Regions from separate parts of the Homo sapiens genome. Here all the other regions are linked to region 2. Evidence: promoter capture Hi-C in 16 types of primary human blood cells and fetal thymus (Javierre and others, 2016). All regions are on one chromosome and are shown on one strand. Each heading gives the region's core, a stretch centred on a gene start or on the middle of the fragment in contact. The rest is flanking DNA. Distances are from core to core; before and after follow the strand shown. Region 1 overlaps FAM118B (family with sequence similarity 118 member B). Region 2 holds the start of CHEK1 (checkpoint kinase 1). Region 3 has its middle 13 kb from the start of RPUSD4. Region 4 overlaps SLC37A2 (solute carrier family 37 member 2). Region 5 overlaps CCDC15 (coiled-coil domain containing 15). Region 6 overlaps FAM118B (family with sequence similarity 118 member B). Region 7 overlaps TMEM218 (transmembrane protein 218).

Region 1 (2,700 bases), core at 159-2,658, 610 kb after region 2:
TGAAGCAAGAGAATCACTTGAACCCAGGAGGCAGAGGTTGCAGTGAGCCAAGATTACGAGATTCCATCTCAAAAAAAAAAGCCAGTTGGAGAATCTGTGTGTACATAAGGGGCTTGGTCCCAGACTCTATGTAGAGTTAAGGAATTCCCACCTGTCAGAATCTGCAGGTTTTTCATCTCATACTGGCCATTTTCCTGAAAGAGGAATCGTCCTCATTTCCTAACTGGATGGGGGATAGGGGTGCAGGTACAGAGTTGATTCCTAGAGTCTGAAAAGCTTCCTCTGGGGAAAGAGAGTTGGGGGAAATCTTGTATTTTATATACAGACTTTTACTTAATCCCCACCCTCAGCTGTGTGCAGTGTTCTCAGATATAGTCCTCTGGTCAACCTCTGCAGAAGGGAAACCTCTAGCCTGCTGAAAGTTGTAACTGTTAAAGGCTTGTAACTGATTCTCCTATTTTAGCCCCACCAGCCCCTCTACCTTTAGATGTACATGAACATTCCCAAAATTCTACCAAGGGAATCGGCCTTTGCATTACAATTGGTAAAATGTTGTTGCCCTTTGACCTCTGTTGTCTGCTGTCATCTTTACCTAGCCTACTTTTTAGGTATATATACCCGCTAAAAAAAAAAAGTAACTATTATTTGGTGGTTTACAAAGAACCAGTAATAAAACACAATTGTTAAATGTTTTATTTTTAAGTGGAAGTCTTTTTTTTTTTTTTTTTCGAGACAAGGTCTTGTTCTGTCACCCAGGCTGGAGTGCAGTGGCACAAACACAGCTCACTGCAACCTCAGCCTCCTGGGCTCACGTGATCCTCCCGTGAACTTAGCCTCCCAGGTAGCTGGGACTACAGACGTGCCTAATTTTCTTTTTCGTTCTTTCTTTGTTTGGCAGAGATGGGGTCTCACTAAGTTGCCTAGGCTTGTCTCAAACTCCTGGGCTCAAGCTCAGCCTCCTAAAGTGCTGAGATTACAGGCATGAACCACTGCACTTAGCCAAATTGGAAGTCTTAATTAGGAAGAATTATAGTTCAAATCTGTATGTTATATAAAAAAATACAGTACAACAGTATAAAATGAAAAGTAAAAAGTCCTTATTCTCTGCTATCCCCATTTAACCACTATTTATACATCTTGTGAATCCTAGAAATTTTCTATGTGTGTGTATATTTGTTTATGTGGATTTGTGTATGCTTCACTATCTTGATTGCTCTGAACTGAAACTCATTTTTCATCATTTGCTTCTAACATCTATTATTAATGTCTTTTCTAGTAGACTGATCTTTCAAGATCAGGGACTCCATTTTGTTCATGGATACATGACTCCCGTAGTGTCTGGTACATACAGGTTTTCCTTTCCTGCCTCAGCCTCCCTAGTAGCTGGGACTACAGGTGTGCGCCACCAGACCCAGCTAATTTTTGTATTTTTAGTAGACACAGAGTTTCACCATGTTGGCCAGGCTGGTCTTGAACTCCTGACCTCAAGTAATCAGCCCACCTTGGCCCCCCAAAGTGCTGGGATTACAGGCGTGAGCCACTGCTCCTGGCCTCGGTTTTTCATATTTGTTGAATGACTGAATGCAGAAGCTCGGGTTAGGGAAAGCAGTTTTAGAGGCTGTGTCCCCAAAACCAGGTTTCCCAAGGCTTGAAAGTGCTATTCCTTTCTTGAGTTATGCCAAAATGCTGATCCTCTCCATTTTATTATTTAGACAAAAAGGTTGGGGAGAAGCCATTTTCAGGGGAGGGGAACATGCCATCAGCAAAAATTAATGTGAAGGAACATATTTCAAGCAGGGATAGTCTCCAGAATGAAAGAGAGGGGAACAAAAACAAAAATTAGCACCCATGCTGTCTCACATATGGGCCTCAGAACAGAGAAGTCTGTCTCTGCTTATCATGGTAAGAAAGGAATGTTTTTCACTTTTTGTCATGTCCTTTGATTAGTTAATGTCTTTATTTAGGTATGTAGGGCCCCTGTGTTTTCAGAATTCTATTGGCCACTTTTTTTTTCTTTTTTTTTTTTGCCTGAGGTTAATGTTTACAAAATTCAGAATTAAATTTTGTATTGCCTTTCCCCTAGTGTTTTACATTTCTCAATAATAGGAACTTAATTTGTCCTGGGGTTCTTTTCTCTTTTTCTAGAGTACAAATCAAACGTCTTCTTTTGAAATTTAATACTGGTTTAAAATATAATTTAGTTGGCAGAAGTCAGCTGAGCTATAGTCTATTTGGATCTTTTCCTAATATTAGTGGAATTTCTTAGGTTGAGAGGACTAGGAAGGGAAAACTGATTTTAAGATTGGTTTTGGGATTCCTGAAATAGGTTTATGACTTGTTTTTCAGCAAGCACTGACACAATATTCTGGTTGTTTTCTTTAAACTGCTTTGGAAAGGTGTCAAAAACTGCTGTTCATCTTCTTTGCAACTATAAAAGTTAGCTAAAAACTGTAACCTGAGTCAGACAGTCTTTCTGTGTGCCTCATATCTATTGGATATTCCAATCCTCTCATTTGTTTTGCTTTTATAGGAAGCTGCTTCCAAGCTTAAAAACTAAGAAGCCTCGAGAACTTGTGCTAGTGATTGGAACAGGCATTAGTGCTGCAGTTGCGCCCCAAGTTCCAGCCCTCAAATCCTGGAAGGGGTTAATTCAGGCCTTACTGGATGCTGCCATTGATTTTGATCTTTTAGAAGATGAGG
Region 2 (2,700 bases), core at 33-2,532:
AAAAAGACTCCATCAGACACACAGGAAATTTGCAGGTCTTCCTCTTCGTATTCTTTGTTTTCAGCACACAGTGAGGAAACAAGAGAAAATGGGATAAATGATATAAAAACTTGCTTTTATTTTTATACCAGGCCCTGTGGCTCGCTTCTGTAATCCCAGTGACTTGGGATGCTGAGGTAGGAGGATCACTTGAGCTCAGGAGTTCCAGGCTGCAGTGAGCTAAGACTGCCCAATTGCACTCCAGCCTGGGTGACAGAGCAACACACCCTGTCTCCAAAAACAACAAACTGTAAAAAGATTACATGAAGCCTAATCTGTGATGTCATGATTCAAAACTATACACATAAGCATTTTAAGAGTTTTTTCCTTGATTTTTGTTCCTGACTTTGCTTCTTTAAAAGAAATGTGTGTTTTTGTTGTTGGTTGTTTGTTTTTGAGACGGAGTCTTGCTCTGTTGCCCAGGCTGGAGTGCAGTGGCACAATCTCTGCTCACTGCAGCCTCTGCCTCCTGGGTAGCTGGGATTACAGGCACTCGCCATCGTGCCCGGCTAATTTTTGTATTTTTAGTAGAGACGGGGGTTTCACCATGTTGGCCAGGCTGGTCTTGAACTGCTGACCTCAGGTGATCCATACGCCTCAGCTTCCCAAAGTGTTGGGATTACACGTGTGAGCCACCAGGCCCCGGCCTTGAGTAACATTTTATACTTGTTTCACTTTACTATTATCATAATAGCCAGTTATGCTTAGTGTTTGTATGTGGCCCAGTCTTAAGGACTAAGAAAATATATATGTATATATATAAAATATATACATATAAAAAAATATGTTTTTTTCCTACGGAATCATGCTGTTGCCCAGGCTGGAGTGCAGTAGTGCTCACTAACCTCTAACTCCTGGACTCAAACGATTGTTCTGCTTAGGCCTCCCAAGTAGCTAGGGCTACAGGGACACACCACCAAGCCCGACTAATTCCTAAATTTTTTTATTTGTAGAGATGGGGTCTCCCTATGTTCCCCAGGCTGGTCCTGAACTCCTGGCCTCAAGCCATTCTCCTGCCTCGCCTTCCCAAAGTGCTGGAATTACAGGCAGGAGCCACTGCGCCCGGCCAGTGCTGGAGAATGTAATGGAGATGATCCTGCCTATCCCTGAGTTCCAGTCTAGTTTACTGTCAGAGAATACTTATTTCCATTTTTCCTATTTTGTTCTTGAGTCTCTTTCCTCAGAATTTACTTTTCCACTTAAATGACGTACGCAGCTTTTAAATTTGCGTTGTAAGATTTATTTTGGCTCTCCCCGCCTGTTCTTTGCACATTAAAAATGAAAAAGTTTGTAGAACTAAGCTAAGCAGATGGTCTTCCTGCAAAAAGACCGGGCTGAAGTAAAGCATTGTTTTGGAGCTGGTTCACAGAAAAAAGGCAAAACTGGTTATCCTGACTTCAAGCTCCAACATAAACTGCTCGCTTTCTCCGGGAAACTTGCCCCGCCACACACACTTGACTGCGTGGCCAGTTCTTTCGAAGCCTCTCGCTCCCAACACGGAGTTCCTCCCATTTCTTCACAGTCGGCTCTCAGCAGCTGCTGCTGGTTTCTCGGCTCCAGCACCACGAGTACCGCACTCTGAGGTTTACAAAGCACTCTGCTTCACCGACTGTGATCCTCACAGTCCTGTCCGGTGGCCTCACGCAGGTGGCGGTGCAGCCTTTCAGGCCCAGAGCGGCCAGGAGCGAAGCCCGCAGCCCCGCCTGGAAGCGCAGCGCGGTCGGTCGCGCGCCCCTGAGGCTTGGAGGCCTGGGCTTCCCCCAGCAGCGCTCGAGCACCGCCCAGTCGAGCCTCACACCGGATGCCACTTCATATTTGGGCCCAGAGCTCAATTCGCGCCGATGCGGTCCGCCGTCCTTAAATCTCTTCAGCCAGGATCTCTCCCCGACTGCAAAGCAGCCCTGGGCGGGAGCGGCAACATCTCCACGTCACCCTTTTGGAGCCGCCGACATTCAGAGGGGCAGGACACGGGAACGCGCGCTGTCTTGCTTTACGGCGCGGGTGCGCGAGTTTGCGGCAGCGTGACGCCCTCAAGTTTTGGCGGGAAAAGCGCTGCATTTGGATTCCTGCAGTGGTGGGCAAAGGACAGTCCGGTGAGGAAGGGCGGCCGGTAGAGTAGGGAAGGTTTCTAAAGAAGGAGTTCGGGGTCTAGATTAGTGAGGGAGGGCATGGTGGGAGAAAGTTAGCATTGACTAGCGCAGGGGATTGGAGAGACTCCTGCGGAGGGGCGGTTTCGGAGGGTGGAGGAATGGTACCAGGAGGTTCCCGTTGTGGGGGCGGGGGCAGGAGGGACTAACCCGCTGCTAGCTAAGAACCCCAAGGAAGAGTCCCAGCCCTTCCTTTCGCCTCTGGGGGCAGTTTGGCCCCGCCCCGGCCTTTGGGACGGGTGGGGCTGTGGATGGGGATGGGAATTGGAATTGAGCAATTGGGAGGAGGCGCTGCCGCAGGCGTTTTCTGCCCCATACCGCTCCCTATATCCTCTTCCTCTCTTCCCCAGACCCCCACCTCTCCCTCCTCCTTCCCCAGTCGTTCGCCGGAAAGCATTTGTCTCCCACCTCTTCATAACAACAATTAATTTCCTCTGGGGCCTGAGGAGGGCAGAATTTCAACCTTCGGTGTGCTTGGGAGTGGCGATTGTGATTTACACGACAAAATGGTCAG
Region 3 (2,700 bases), core at 115-2,614, 570 kb after region 2:
GATCCTAAGGCCACAACCAACAGGGGCATCTATGCAGACAGCCACCTAGGCTGGTCACTCGCTGGGGGACAGCAAGATGAAGGGATCCCTAAGAGAGGACATCAAGAGACGCCTAAGGGAGTGGGGGATGGAGAGGAAAACTCAGAGTTCTATAATAATTTGCCTTGCTTTCGTCCTTGGTTCCTGGGAGAGAGAACCTAAATCCTTGGAATTTCCCAAGTGATGTTAACATTTTTTGTTATTCATGATGAGCCCTAATAGTTTACGCTATTAAATGTGAGGACTCACGGTGGGGCTTTAGTTTCAGGATGGGTAGTTTCAGGCTGGCCATGCAAAAAGACCGACCATGTGATTAGAGGGTTGGCACTTTGAACCCAGCAGAACCGAGTTCAACAATGTAGCCAATTGTTCAACCACGACAACATAATGAAACCCCAATAAAAACTCTGGACACCAGGGCTTGGGTGACATTCCTGGCTGGTGATGCACATCCATGTGTTGGGAGGGTGACACGGTGGGCAGAGGACACGGTAGCTTCATGCTGGAGACTCTCCCAGACCTTGCCCATGCATCTCTTCTTTTAGCTGGTCCTGATTCATATCATTTTATTGCTACAGCAAAACCATAATAGTAAGCATAGCTAGTGCTTTGCTGAGTTCTGGGAGTCATTCTAGTGAATGATCAAACCTGAGGGGTTTGTGAACACTCTTGAATTCATAGCTAGTTGGTCAGAAGTACAGGTGGCTGGAAAACCCCAGAGCTTGCAGCTGGTGTCTGAAGTGAGGCAAGTCCTGTGGAATGTGCCATTAACTTGTGACATCTGGCCTAACGCTGGGTAGCTGGTGTTTGAATTACATTGCCCTGAGCCAGCAGATTTTGCTCCGCACTGGGAGAAGCTGTCTGCACCCACATGGCATGCTTTGCACAAGCACAAGCAGGAGGCCATGTTTTTGTATATCCTACCAGGCACTCTGGCTAAAAGCAGTCCAGAGAGCCAAGGAGAGCAGACCTAGAAAACATGGTGGGAGGCTGCTCTATTTGCCTGTCTTGTTTAAAACAGGTACCCCCTCCCACACTGCTCTATCCCCAGGAACCTGGGGATGGTCTCAACACCCCGTTGTGAGTTTGGTTTCTGGTGGGAACTAGCAGGTTGCCTATGATCCTATTTCTAACCCACTATGCCCTTCCACCTCCCAGACCTATCCCATCATAGCTGAAGGGTGGGGACGGTGAAATTGGTGCTCAGGAGATATTAGAATTAAAGAGGGAAGTGCATTTTAAGAGAAGGGTTTTAGATGGAACTGGCAAAGAATTAGTGGCTAATTGGATTTGGGGACTGGTGCGAGGGAGGAGTTAAGGGTGATTCCCAGGTCTCTGGTGATGCCATCTAAACTAAGGCAGGTAAGAGGACAGGAGCAACAGGCCCGGAGAGGGAGCTCCCAAGGGGAGACGATCACAGGCAGATGGATGTGAAGATAAGGAGCTCAAGGGGGAGATCAAGGTCAGAGACAGACTAGCGAGTCGTCAGCACACAGGTAGAGGCTTCCCAAGTTGGCCCAGCTCTCCCTCTGGGAGAGGGGCAGGATGCCAAGATGGAGCTCTGGGGGGCACCATGCTGGGGCCCTTCAAGGAGCCTGGAAGGAGGTCAGACAAGGAGATGCAGGAGGAGTTCATGGAATCAAAGCGAGTGAGGAGCTCAGAGTGGGCAATTCGGTTATCAAATGCAAAGACGTGTGATACGAGGATTGAGAAAGTGCTCTGTGGGCTTATTAGGTTGGGCATGCCTAGCACAGAAAAAAACCAGCTACCCAAAAGCTGCCTCCTGGAGCAGAAGAGCCAGTGCTGCCACCAGAAGGGGCACTGGGAGAGCCGGCCTCCCCCCTCTGCTGAGCACAAGCACCTCCCAGAGCTCACAGCAAACAAAATCCCTACGTGGGCAAGGAGCTGCTGCTTTTCATGGCAAGCCTTTAGTTCTTGATTTTTCATTTTGATTTTTTCTTATTCTTTTTTTAACCAGAGTCATTTGAGCAGAATAGTTCTTGATTTTTTAAATCATGTGCACATAGAACTTTGATAAAAATAGAAATTTAAGAAGCCCATTTTCTTATACTAATTACTGTATATGACTTAACACTAAATCATATCTTTTAGCTGGCTCTAATCAGTATTTCAAAATAGATGCAGTTCATTTTAGGCACATTCCAACCTCCTTTGCTGTGTAACCCATTTCTCAGGCCACACTAACCTGGGGTAAAATTCCTCTTATATTATTGTCAGTAATTAAAGATAGCCACTGGGCCAGGCACGGCGGCTCATGCCTGTAATCCCAGCACTTTAGGAGGCTGAGGCAGGTGGATCACCTGAGGTTGTGAGTTTGAGACCAGCCTGACCAACATGGAGAAACCCCATCTCTACTAAAAATACAAAATTAGCCGGGCATGGTGGCACATGCCTGTAATCCCAGCTACTCGGGAGGCTGAGGCAGGAGAATCGCTTAAACTCGGGAGGCAGAGGTTGTGGGGAGTGGAGATCACGCCATTGCACTCCAGCCTGGGCAACAAGAGTGAAATTCTGTCTCAAAAAAAAAAAAAAAAAAAAAAAAAAGATAGCCACTGTACCTAGCAAGACCTGCTGCTCAGGCAGTCCAGATCCCACTAAGAATCAGAGAAATGTTAATCCTTTCTTTAGGCCTAAGAAAAC
Region 4 (2,700 bases), core at 7-2,506, 560 kb before region 2:
TAAATATTCACAAACTTATCAAGATTTTGCCAACTTTGGCAAAATTTTAACACATTTAATTGCTTATTTTTAGACTTATTGTTTGATGTACTATAATCCAAGACAAATCAAATTTCCTTTCTACAAACCTAAAATGTATCCATTCAGATTTGACCTTCCCTGTTCCCTTTCTTATTCTGGAACAACCAGTCATTTTTCTTATGTGTAATATTTTTCCTTTTAATAAACAAAAACAGGTTTCAATACCATGTATACAAAGTCATACCTCTCTGCCACGATTGTTCCTAGTAGAGTCTCATTCATGTATATTAGTTATATCTTTTAACCAAAGTAACTAACATTTCAGAGAGAATGGGGAGTGGGGAGGGTGGATCATTATAAACCATCTAGAACACATTGGCATTCTAGAAGGGCTCAGTAATACGCATAACATGACTTTCTCCAGCCTCCAACACTCTTCACTTTCACACTTCTCAAGGTGTGAATTCAGCTACGGTATTCCCCAACATCTCTGGGATTTATGACAGACCTTGGTTGAAATCCTTTCACCACTGTGAGCCTTGACTTTGCTGAGCCCCAGTTTCCTCATCAATAAAAGTCAGATGGGTTCTTGAGGATAAATGCGATAATATAAGGAAACATTCTTGACGTCTTGTGGCTGCTGGAGGGTACTCAACAGGTATCCTTTTACTTCCTTCCAGATAAGTTTAGATTTGGATTCCTATCAAACACTAAATGTCACGTAGTTCTTCTGTAAGTACATTATTATGCTGAGCTCTGAGGCCTGCAAAGACAATCAAGACAGGGTTCTACCTTCTTGGAACTAAGAATCAAGCTGGAGAGGGGCTGTGTACACACAGTCAGCAATTTTAGAAGGCCCTGCTCTACTTATTGAGTGCCAAAGGATGGCATTTCCTATGTGCCATGTCATTCAGAGGACCAGCGAGGGGAATGCAGAAGTCGGTTGGGGAGATTTTGAAGAAAACTGACTTGCTGAGCACTTAACACATAAAAGGTTAGAGATTATATGTATACATTGCCTGGTATACAGGAAGCATGGAATACATGGCGGCTTTTACTATCATTATTAATGATGGTGATGTTATTATTACAGATACATATTAACCCAATTCACCTTTCTTGTGCTAAACAAAATACAGGCCAGGGTGCAGACAAATAAAAATAAAGACTTATAGTCTGAAAATGAGAAATCAAATCTCTGTCACATTTAACTGCTTTCACATGTCCCCAAGGAGGGCATTTAAGAAGTGAAGAAGACAGAATAGGAAGCTGAAAGTGGACTGGCCCTGGGCCTTGGACTCCTCCTCTGTAAAATGAGGATAATAATAATACCTGTATCACACGAGTGTTTTGAGGTTTAAATGAGGTACTACGTGTAAGGTACTTAGGTCAGTGCCAGGCTGATATGAAACACTGAGTAAACACTAATGATTGACTATATTCTATTTGTTTTTCCTACTACTTTGTGCCAGGCATTGTTTATTTGTAATTTTTGTGGAACTGCAAGGTGAATGTTAGCTTCCCTGTGGAACATATGAGTGTAATGAGGCACAGAGCAGTTATGTAAGCCTGTCCAGCACCACACAGCTGATAAATGACTGAGCTGGAGTTGGAATCAAGATTAGTCTGACTCGTAAGCCCATGGTCTTTCCGCTGCCTTCCTAATGATAGTGTTGGGTGGGGAAAAGATTACATGGCCATTTGGCCTTGGACAAATTACTTAACATCTCCCAGGCTCAATTTCCTTATCTATGAAATGGAAAAAATGATGTACCTATATCACGGGGTTTTGGTGAAATTAAATGAGAAGCTGCTTAAAGCACTTAGCCCAGTGTCTAGCGTAGTTGGTATTGGCTAGGTGCTTATAAATTTCTGTGGAGGGAGAGAATCATCTCCATTAGGAGAAGAAGGAAGTCTTTGACTTGGATCTGGAGGTGTTCTGAGCAGAGGTCACAGAGCCAGCAAAGGCATGCAAGTGGAGACATGGCCTGTCCCCTGTCTCTGAAGTAGTAACATGTAGCTCCAGCTGGTAGGAACAAAAGGTGCCCCTGGACAGGAGGCTGGGAGTCATGTGGCGCCAGGTGTGTGGAGACAGCTGCAGACATCCAGGCAAGAGTCAGAGATGGCGGAGTTTCTGTCCAGGAAGATGTTGCTCTCCTCCTCCTGTTAGGCCTTCCTCGTCAGGATGACAATGAATGGCTTGTCCATGGCGTTTCAGAGCCACAGAGCACCTGGAGGTTCCCCAGCCTGGAGCCTGGCTGGTTCCTGCCTTTTGTACCAGTGTCTGTGTGGGTGCGTCTGGGGGCAGCTGGCAGCATGGGAGATGACTGTGGCTGGTGCTTATGGGGCTGGGCCCATTTCCTGGGGCCCTCTGAGGGGGATGGCCCAGAACGTGCAGAAGAAGAGCCTGTGGGAGGAAATACCAGGGTGACCACAGCTGGATGAGCAGGAATGGGCAGGAGGGTGAATTGGGCAGGCAGGAAGAGCAGGAGCTGTGAGCTCCTGTGGTGCCATTTTTCCCACACCTCGATCTTCCCCTGTGAGCTGCAAAAGGCCACAGCTGAGCTAGAATGGATGGTTCTGCCCTGTGGAGTTAGCTAAGGGCTTTCACTGCCGGATCCTGGTGCCCACTCTGAGGAGGACGCAGGGGAAAGACATTCAAATTCATACTGAGAGAAA
Region 5 (2,700 bases), core at 66-2,565, 670 kb before region 2:
CTTTTCACATGGCTTCTCTGTTTGACTAACTTGGGCTTCCTCACAGCATGGTAATCTCAGGGTAGTCTGAATTTTTATATGGTGCTGACTTCCTTCAGAATGAGCACTCTAAGAACAGAGGTGGAAGTTTCTTTATGACCTGGCTTGTAATCTTGTGGAGTAAAAGAGGAGCAGAGAAAATGGAGGTAAAAGAAAGAGGCCGAATGGCTTAAACTTGTCTGGGGCTTGAGTTAAGCTGGGTCAGTTGTTCAGGCTTCATTACGTATATATCTCTCCGTTGGAATTATTTTACCTAATTGTTCTTTGACACTTGTACACTCCACTAGAGTAGTTTATGGGATAGACATCTTGGAAATTTTAACTTAAATTGAAATTTGAATGCATTTGATTTTGAGAATTTAATGACAGCCTGTAAAATGATCTGAGGTACCCTTCAGAATTAGAAGTTGGAATCACTGAGTTAGAAGGAATAGGTACGAGATATGATGATGATTTTATTTAATTTGAAAATTCCTAGTGAAAGAGAGACATAGTCAAGAGAAAAGCAGTGTAGAGAGGAACATAATTGTTGGAGTCAGAAACTTCTAATTCTGCTACTAGTTAGCTATATTAAAATTACTTAATCTTTCTGAACTCCAGCTTCCTCATCTGTAACATAAGGGATAAGAATACCTACTGCCAAAGGTGGTTTTGAGGATAGAGTGCTACAAAGTAGTTAAAATACTTGTCACCTGATAGATCCATAATAATGATAAGTGCTGTTATGATGATGACTATGATTATTATTCAAAGCACTTAGAGGAGATAAATGCAGATCAAGAACTCAAATGGGATAAAGTGTTCCAGATTGTTCAGAACAAGCTTGTCCAACATGCGGCCATGGGCCACATGTGGCCCAGGATGGCTTTGAATGCGACCCAATGTAAATTAATAAATTTTCTTAATTAACACTATGAGTTTTTTTGTGATTTTTTTTTTTCTCATCAGCTACTAGTGTTAATGTATTTTATGTGACAGTTCTTCCAACATGGCCCAGGGAAGCCAAAATATTGGACACCCCTGGTTTAGAATATGTTTTGGAATTGAGCAATTATATAAATATATATTGACTACCCTTATAGTGAAGGCTCTGTACTAGATGCCGTAGGGGAAATAAAGGAGAATTGAATACATATCCTGTCCTCAAAGAGTTCATAATCTAGTAGGGGAGTCAAGAAGTACTATACTCAGTTAACATTGGTGAAATGAGAGGTGTTATAGCATAAGAGGGCTTAGAGAGAGAGTGTTGTGGAAGGTACTGGGGAGTGGGTATTAAATGGTTGTGAAAACTGAATAGGCCTTTACTAGGTGGAGATGAAAGGAAGGGCATGCCAGGTTAAAAATGGAGCATAATGCCAAATATGAAGACATTTTAACAATAGGACATATTTGGTGAGTGGTAAGTAACCTGGTGTGTCTTGACTATTTACTCCATTTTAGAAAATGTGTAACGTGTTAGGTTTTATTTGGTTCATTAAGATTTAATGAAGACATCGTTAGTTCTAATTCAATAAAAAATTTAAGATTTGATACTCATACATTCCATTTTTTTTTGTACAGAATGGAATTATTTTTTTCAGGATTGTATCCTTATCCTGACTGTTTTGTGTTTAAAACAGCCCTAATGGACAAAACTGCTAACATTTAAGTTCATTTTCTGTCTTTCATCTTTAAAGACATCAGCATATTTAATTGAAGAAGAACTAAAGGAACAGCTAAGAAAAAAACAAGAAGCTTTGAAACATTTTCAGAAACAAGTTAAATACCGAGTAAATCAACAAATTAGGTTGAGAAAAAAGCAACAGCTTCAGAAGTCTTATGAAAGAGTAAGTTCAAAAGTGAGCCTGAGTAAAGATTGAATGGAAAATATGTGTGTTATGAGATAAGCTATTAGGCAGTAACAGAATTGCTTTCCTTTGATTACATGCCTAATATAATCTAATTAACTAGTGAAGACAGTAAATTTTTTTTGTAGAGAAACCATGTTTTATTCCTGTGTTCTGACTCAATTTTTTGCTTTTACCAAGTAGTTAAAAGCAATGTCAGAATTTTGGGTTCAGACTTGAGTTTGAATTTTGGCTTTGCTACTTCTAGCTATTGACTTTTGGCTAATTACTTAACTTCACTGATTGTAGTTTCTTCATCCATAAAATAAGGATATGATACTTCTCTCATAGGATTGTGTGAGAGTTAGATGAGATAACCTAAATTATTAGCACATGGGAGGTGCCTGGTAAATGTTAGTTTCTCTGCCAGCTAAAGCCTCTCCCCTGCCCCCCACCCCAATTTAAAATCTTCTGAACTGCTTTAGAGGCATTATTTGATTGCTCTGGATTGGGGTAGAATGTTACTATCCCCCTTTCTTCTTTCGTGTAGGCACAAAAAGAAGGCTCCATAGCCATGCAGTCTTCAGCAACACACTTAACTTCCAAAAGGACAAGTGTTTTTCCAAACAATTTGAATGTTGCTATTGGAAGTTCTAGGTTACCTCCTTCCCTGATGCCTGGGGATGGAATAGAGGATGAAGAGAATCAGAACGAATTATTCCAACAACAAGCCCAGGCTGTAAGTACCTGTTCTTTTTATTTTATGTCTATGATATTTTCCCTATCCCCTAAACTATAAATATGACATCTAGGGTATGAGGTAGGGATTAAGAGT
Region 6 (2,700 bases), core at 92-2,591, 630 kb after region 2:
AGGATCACTTGAGCCCAGGAGTTGGAGTCTGCAGTGAGCTATGATTGCATCACTGCCCTACAGTCTGAGCAATAAAGCAAGACGCTGTTTCTAAAATAAATAACATACAGGTAATTTAATAAACATAAAGCAGTTTTCCTAAATCAAATCATCCCCAGATTTCTTAACTGAATCAGATGGCTTCAAGTAGAATTCTCCTGTAATGAAAAATTACACAGCTTCTTCCATGGCTATGCTTTGATGGAACCAGACTTTTAAAAGCCATCACCACATGAACAAGTCTCATTTGTGAAAACTATTTACTATTCTTTGTTGGAAATGAGTTTTTCTGGTGTCCTGCAGTGTTCTAGACTCTCCTGCTGTTGTTTGCCCACACTTGAGACTTTGAGAAGGCTTTTCTGTTGCACATGTTGTTTTCATTAACAAGACATACATATCCAAGTTCTACATATTTCTTTTGATCTATATGCTGAGGAAAGATGCTAAAGTTTAAAACAGCAAAATCCGTCTGCATAACTGTTTCTGTTGCACTAAATCTTAGCAAAAAATAAATATGTCTTTAGACTGTTGCATTACATAACAAAGAAGCAGTAAGGTTCCTTAGTGCACTAAGATTGCTCTAAGGAACCTTAACTGCTATTGTGGAATGGCACAAATTCTTTTATTAGCTGTGTAGGCTTCCTACCAGAGTAGCTTTCCCCGAAGTTACCCATCATTAAGGTGTTCTGTATCTTTAAACAAAATCAAGGATTTTCAGTATGGCCAGAGTGCTTTATGGGAATGGTCAGCTGAGTTTGTCATGTGAAATGTAGTAGAGCAGTTTCAGGTTAAAACATCATTTCATTTTGAAACGAGTCAACCTTATCTTTCACCCTTGCATAATGTTTTGAGTCTCTGTAGATATAGACTAATGAGAGGTTACAGGTCTTTTGCTGTTATTTTGTTTTTTAACACTGAACCTTTGCTATGTGCCTGGCATTGTGCTGTATACTCACTTTTGCATAGTGGAAATTAATTGTCTTCAAAGGATTCTATAGTATGTAGTTACACATATTTTGGAAAAATCAAGCAGTGGGAAAAAGAAAAATAATTCTTATAATCCATTACCATACAAGCAGTCGTTGTGGTACTTTTTTTTTTTTTTTTTTTGAGATGGAGTCTCGCTCTGACGCCAGGCTGGAGTGCAGTGGCACAATCTCGGCTCACTGCAACCCCCGCCTCCTGGGTTCAAGTGATTCTCCTGCCTCAGCCTCCTGAGTGGCTGGAACTATAGGCGCCCACCACCATGCCCGGCTAATTTTTTGTATTTTTAGTAGAGATGGGGTTTCACCATGTTGGCCAGGATGGTCTCGGTCTCCTGACCTCATGATCCACCCGCCCTGGCCTCCCAAAGTGCTGGGATTACAGGCGTGAGCCACCATGCCCGGGCCTATTTATTGATTTGAGATGGAGTTTCTCTCTGTCACCCAGGCTAGAGTGCAGTGGCGCAATCTCAGCTCACTGCAAGCTCTGCCTCCTGGGTTCACGCCATTCTCCTGCCTCAGTCTCCCGAGTAGCTGGGACTAAAGGCGCCCGCCACCACACCCGGCTAATTTTTTGTATTTTTAGTAGATACAGCGTTTCACTGTGTTAGCCAGGATGGTCTCGATCTCCTGACCTCGTGATCCACCCACCTCAGCCTCCCAAAGTGCTGGGATTACAGGCGTGAGCCACTGTGCCAGCTTTATTTTTATTTTATTATTATTACTATTTTTGATACAGGGTCTTGCTTTTTCACCCAGGCTGCAGTACAATGGCACAGTCATGGCTCACCACAGCCTTGACCTCCCCGGGCTCAGGCGATCCTCCCACCTCAGCCTCCCGAGTAGCTGAGACTAAAGGCACATACCACAATGCCCAGCTAATTTTTGTATTTTTTGTAGAGATGGGGTTTCGCCATGTTGCCCAGGCTGTTCTCAGTCTCCTAAGTGCAAGCAATCCTCCCACCTCAGCTTCCCAAAGTTCTGGGATTATAGGTGTGAGCCACAGCACCTGGCCTTGGCACATTTCTGATGAAGTTTTCCCTGTGCTTTTTTTCATAGTTGTAAACAAAATATAGTGATTTTTTTTTTTTTTTGGTCCTTTGAAAATTCAGTAGTGGATTGTACATTTTCCCACATCCCTATCTTCATAACCACTATTTTAATTGACTTTTATATTCCAGTAGGGGTGTTACAGTTTACCTAATTATTCCTGTTAGGCAACGTCTGATATTTTTTTTGCCAGTTTTTTGTAAGTCATGTTGTGAAAATAACATCTGTATCTCTTCAGTTTTTCCAGTAATTTCCTTGATGAGTTCTCACTGTAATCAGGTCAAAGATCAGGAACATTTCAGTAATTTATAAATACTGCTAAATTGTTTTCTACGAGGGTAATATCAATTTGTATATTTGAGTACCATGCCTGTTTATACTGTAATTGACCATATTTCTAATGACTATTTTCTTCCATGTGTTCAGCTTTTTACTTTTTCTGAACTATTATCTATGCCAAGTGTTATCCAGTAGAATTTCCTGCAGTCATAAAAATACTGTATAATCTTCACTGTCTAGTATCATAGTTAGGAGCCACATGTGGCTGGTGCACCGTTGAAATGTGGCCAGTGTGACTGAGGAATGGAATTTTTAATTTGAAACCAAGTAGCTGCATATGGCTAGTGCT
Region 7 (2,700 bases), core at 49-2,548, 520 kb before region 2:
GTGTGTTGTTCTGGCAACTCAAATACCACGAGCTGTGCTGCCTTCAGTTATGTGATTTGCTAGAGTGATGAACAACTCTTGTTAAAGTTCCAAACCACAAATAAGTATAATTTTCCTCTGATTTACATTAGAGTTGCATTCCTGGAAATTTTACTATATTAAACTGTGCCAAAAAATACATTATGTTTATACAAAAACCGGAGTTAGGCTCTACACTCAGATAATTATAAATGAGTATCCTGTGGGATACTCAAAATTTGCACAGGATGCAGGACAATTCTTCGTTGTGAGGACTGTCCCATACATTACAGAACATCCAGTATCCGCAGTCCTGATCTGTAAACCCCAGTAGTGCCTCCAATCAAAGAATAACAAAATACATCTTCACAAATTCCAAAACACCCTAAAACGGGCAGCAACATCTTCTTGGGGAACCACTGTTCTAGACACAGTCTTGCATAAAGAGACATGTACAAGGTGTTTATTGCAGCTTTGTTTACAATAGCAAAACATCAGGAAAAAACCTAAATGTCCATCAATCAGGGAACAGATACAATATTATATATTCATAATGAATACTTAAAATGAATGAAATTGATCTATATGTATTGATGTGAATATATCTCAAAAACAATGTTGAGTGACAAAAACAAGTTGCAAAATGGAACCCACAGTATGATACTACTTGTATTTTTAAAATTAAATACAATCTAAACAGTAATATATATTGTTTCTGACGAACGTATATACAGCAAAAGTATAAAAACATGGGCATAAACAATACATGACAATTTCAAAAGACTATTTGCCTCTGCAGAGGGAGGAAGGAAAGGGAATGGGGTTAGGAGTGGAAATAAAAGGGATCTGAACTAAATCTGTGATGTTTTATTTCTTTAAAATAAAAAACTTGAGCTGGTGTGCCAAAATGTTAATATTTATTAATCTGATTGGTGGAACATAGATATTATACTACCCAATGTACTATTTTCTGTTTTTAAATTTTTCGTGATAATTTTTAATTTTTAAAAAGGTAATGGGCAGCAGGATGCATATGAATTGGGTGACCAGTTAGGAAACTATTGCAATTCTCCAGATAAGAGATGATGAGGGTCTGACCTCCAGTCTTAGCTGTGTCAAGGGAGAAGGTGTTAGAAATGACACAAGTTTCTAGCTTAGTTGACTGAGCTGATGGTACTGCTCTTAAGAAAACAACTATTTAAATTTAATTTGTGCTATTCTGGATATTACACAAATAACCCAGAAGACTTGGACCAACTCTAACAGTTAGAATAGAGGGCAAATGGTAGTTGAAGCTGGCTGGCGCCATTAGAAATGTTGCCCTTCAATCCCCCTTAGTAGCTTAAGAGTTCGTGAGACATTGGATTTATATATGGTATGGCTTTAAAGTAATAAGATAAATATTCCCAAGCTCTTTTAAGAATGGAGCTCATAATTTTATAAGCAAACTATACATTTTCTTACTAAGCATAGAAAAGAAGGGCTGGGTATAGTATAGAGTGCTGCTATAGAGGAAGAGAGAACATCTAGTCATTTTTATCTTATTTAAATGTGAGAATAATATCTGTGATAATTTCCCATATTAGAATAGCTAAATTATTGTTATTGAGTACAATACAATAAAATATAAAAACGGGTTCATGCCATCATTAAACCTTCTTTGAGAAGTGATGGCTTGGCCAACCCGATTTCAAGGGTAAGTCCATTTACTTAATATCTGTGGCATTTAAAGCAGGTAGACTGGAGTGAAAAAAAATAATTTAAATTTGAACAGTTCAGCAGCTGACAACAAAAGCAACTACAGGGCTAATGTTTTCCTTCTGTGCTCAATGCTGTGAGGTTTTTCTCTGAGAGAGTTTGTTCAAAACCTTTTAGATGTGTGTGTTCATTTAATGGTTGTTTCTACATACCCTTTCATCCAGCTGTCAGAGAAAATAGGAATAAATGGACTGATCCCTGCACAGGTAACCTAATGGATTAAAAATACGGTACTCATCACCAGGTTGATCATCATGAGCGAGAATACTAACTGCCATTATAAGATGACTTATAAGATGACTTACTATCTAAGACAAATGTGGATTCCTCAGAGGGTAATGTGGCCTAAGTGCTGCTGCTGGAGGGAGATATCTCACCCATCCCCCGATTTTCACACTGACTCAAGCCCTTGAAAGCAACAGAAAACAGTGGGTTACAAGGAGTGAAGTGCTCCTCTGGAAGAGTCCTTTTCACTTTGCTTTATAGCTGTTTTCCAAACCTTCAAAAATAACGGGGGGGGGGGGTTACTTTCACACTTTTATGTTTCTACTTTAAACACTTCACTATCTTTTGAATTTTAAAATATTAGAATAACGCCTCTACCTTTGTAATTAGATAAAATGCAAGCCTGGGGAAAAAATCAGTTGCCAAGCTCCCAAAATGCCACCGATGTAGCATCTGCTCTTAACACGTTGATAGAAAAAGGAGGATCAGTAAACCTAGGTCTCTTCCTTGCATCCCTCTCCTGGACGGTGTTGTGGGTTGGAAGCGCTGCAGAGCCTCGGTCTATCCGCTCTCTGGATCTCACAGCACTGCAGCCTGGGAACACCCCACTTGAACTCTAAGCTTCTCCCCAACCCTGTTGCAGATTCAAACTGGCGACAGGAAAACAATGCCCCCCATGTCTCGTCTTCAGAATGTGCA

What was found. The method cuts DNA at HindIII sites, captures the fragments that hold promoters and counts their contacts. A CHiCAGO score of 5 or more calls a contact.
Region 1: a fragment that was not itself captured here is called in contact with the fragment with the promoter of CHEK1 in region 2 in 2 of 17 cell types (M0 macrophages and M2 macrophages); the score reaches 5.6 in M0 macrophages.
Region 3: a contact is called between a fragment that was not itself captured here and the fragment with the promoter of CHEK1 in region 2, in 14 of 17 cell types (erythroblasts, total CD4 T cells, non-activated CD4 T cells and 11 more). The highest score is 8.5, in erythroblasts.
Region 4: a contact is called between a fragment that was not itself captured here and the fragment with the promoter of CHEK1 in region 2, in 1 of 17 cell types (monocytes). The highest score is 5.5, in monocytes.
Region 5: a contact is called between a fragment that was not itself captured here and the fragment with the promoter of CHEK1 in region 2, in 5 of 17 cell types (total CD4 T cells, non-activated CD4 T cells, fetal thymus and 2 more). The highest score is 7.8, in total CD4 T cells.
Region 6: a contact is called between a fragment that was not itself captured here and the fragment with the promoter of CHEK1 in region 2, in 2 of 17 cell types (total CD4 T cells and fetal thymus). The highest score is 6.5, in total CD4 T cells.
Region 7: a contact is called between a fragment that was not itself captured here and the fragment with the promoter of CHEK1 in region 2, in 1 of 17 cell types (fetal thymus). The highest score is 5.0, in fetal thymus.

What each region holds. Positions count from the first base shown.
Region 1 is chr11:126,238,262-126,240,961 of GRCh38, forward strand. It overlaps FAM118B (family with sequence similarity 118 member B), which reads left to right. Exons shown (of 9, transcript NM_024556.4): 4 at 2,531-2,700. It also overlaps a transcript of SRPRA not described here. Among named protein-coding and RNA genes, the nearest start is that of FAM118B, 28 kb to the left of the region's middle. The HindIII fragment of the contact is 2,269 bases long and covers 275-2,543 here.
Region 2 is chr11:125,623,881-125,626,580 of GRCh38, forward strand. It overlaps CHEK1 (checkpoint kinase 1), which reads left to right and starts at 1,283. Exons shown (of 13, transcript NM_001114122.3): 1 at 1,283-2,132. It overlaps LOC118567325 (a long non-coding RNA gene), which reads right to left and starts at 2,014. Exons shown (of 1, transcript NR_170378.1): 1 at 1,257-2,014. RefSeq lists an enhancer at 1,449-1,958. The HindIII fragment of the contact is 3,445 bases long and covers 1-2,700 here.
Region 3 is chr11:126,196,944-126,199,643 of GRCh38, forward strand. No RefSeq gene overlaps it. Among named protein-coding and RNA genes, the nearest start is that of RPUSD4, 13 kb to the right of the region's middle. The HindIII fragment of the contact is 5,671 bases long and covers 1-2,700 here.
Region 4 is chr11:125,067,655-125,070,354 of GRCh38, forward strand. The region is part of intron 1 of SLC37A2 (solute carrier family 37 member 2); the gene reads left to right. Among named protein-coding and RNA genes, the nearest start is that of SLC37A2, 5.7 kb to the left of the region's middle. The HindIII fragment of the contact is 4,165 bases long and covers 1-2,700 here.
Region 5 is chr11:124,957,400-124,960,099 of GRCh38, forward strand. CCDC15 (coiled-coil domain containing 15) reads left to right here. Exons shown (of 16, transcript NM_025004.3): 3 at 1,716-1,865; 4 at 2,416-2,604. Among named protein-coding and RNA genes, the nearest start is that of CCDC15, 4.5 kb to the left of the region's middle. The HindIII fragment of the contact is 912 bases long and covers 860-1,771 here.
Region 6 is chr11:126,258,296-126,260,995 of GRCh38, forward strand. All of the region lies in intron 7 of FAM118B (family with sequence similarity 118 member B), which reads left to right. It also overlaps a transcript of SRPRA not described here. Among named protein-coding and RNA genes, the nearest start is that of SRPRA, 9.2 kb to the right of the region's middle. The HindIII fragment of the contact is 5,808 bases long and covers 1-2,700 here.
Region 7 is chr11:125,108,563-125,111,262 of GRCh38, forward strand. The region is part of intron 1 of TMEM218 (transmembrane protein 218); the gene reads right to left. Among named protein-coding and RNA genes, the nearest start is that of TMEM218, 1.7 kb to the right of the region's middle. The HindIII fragment of the contact is 2,643 bases long and covers 1-2,620 here.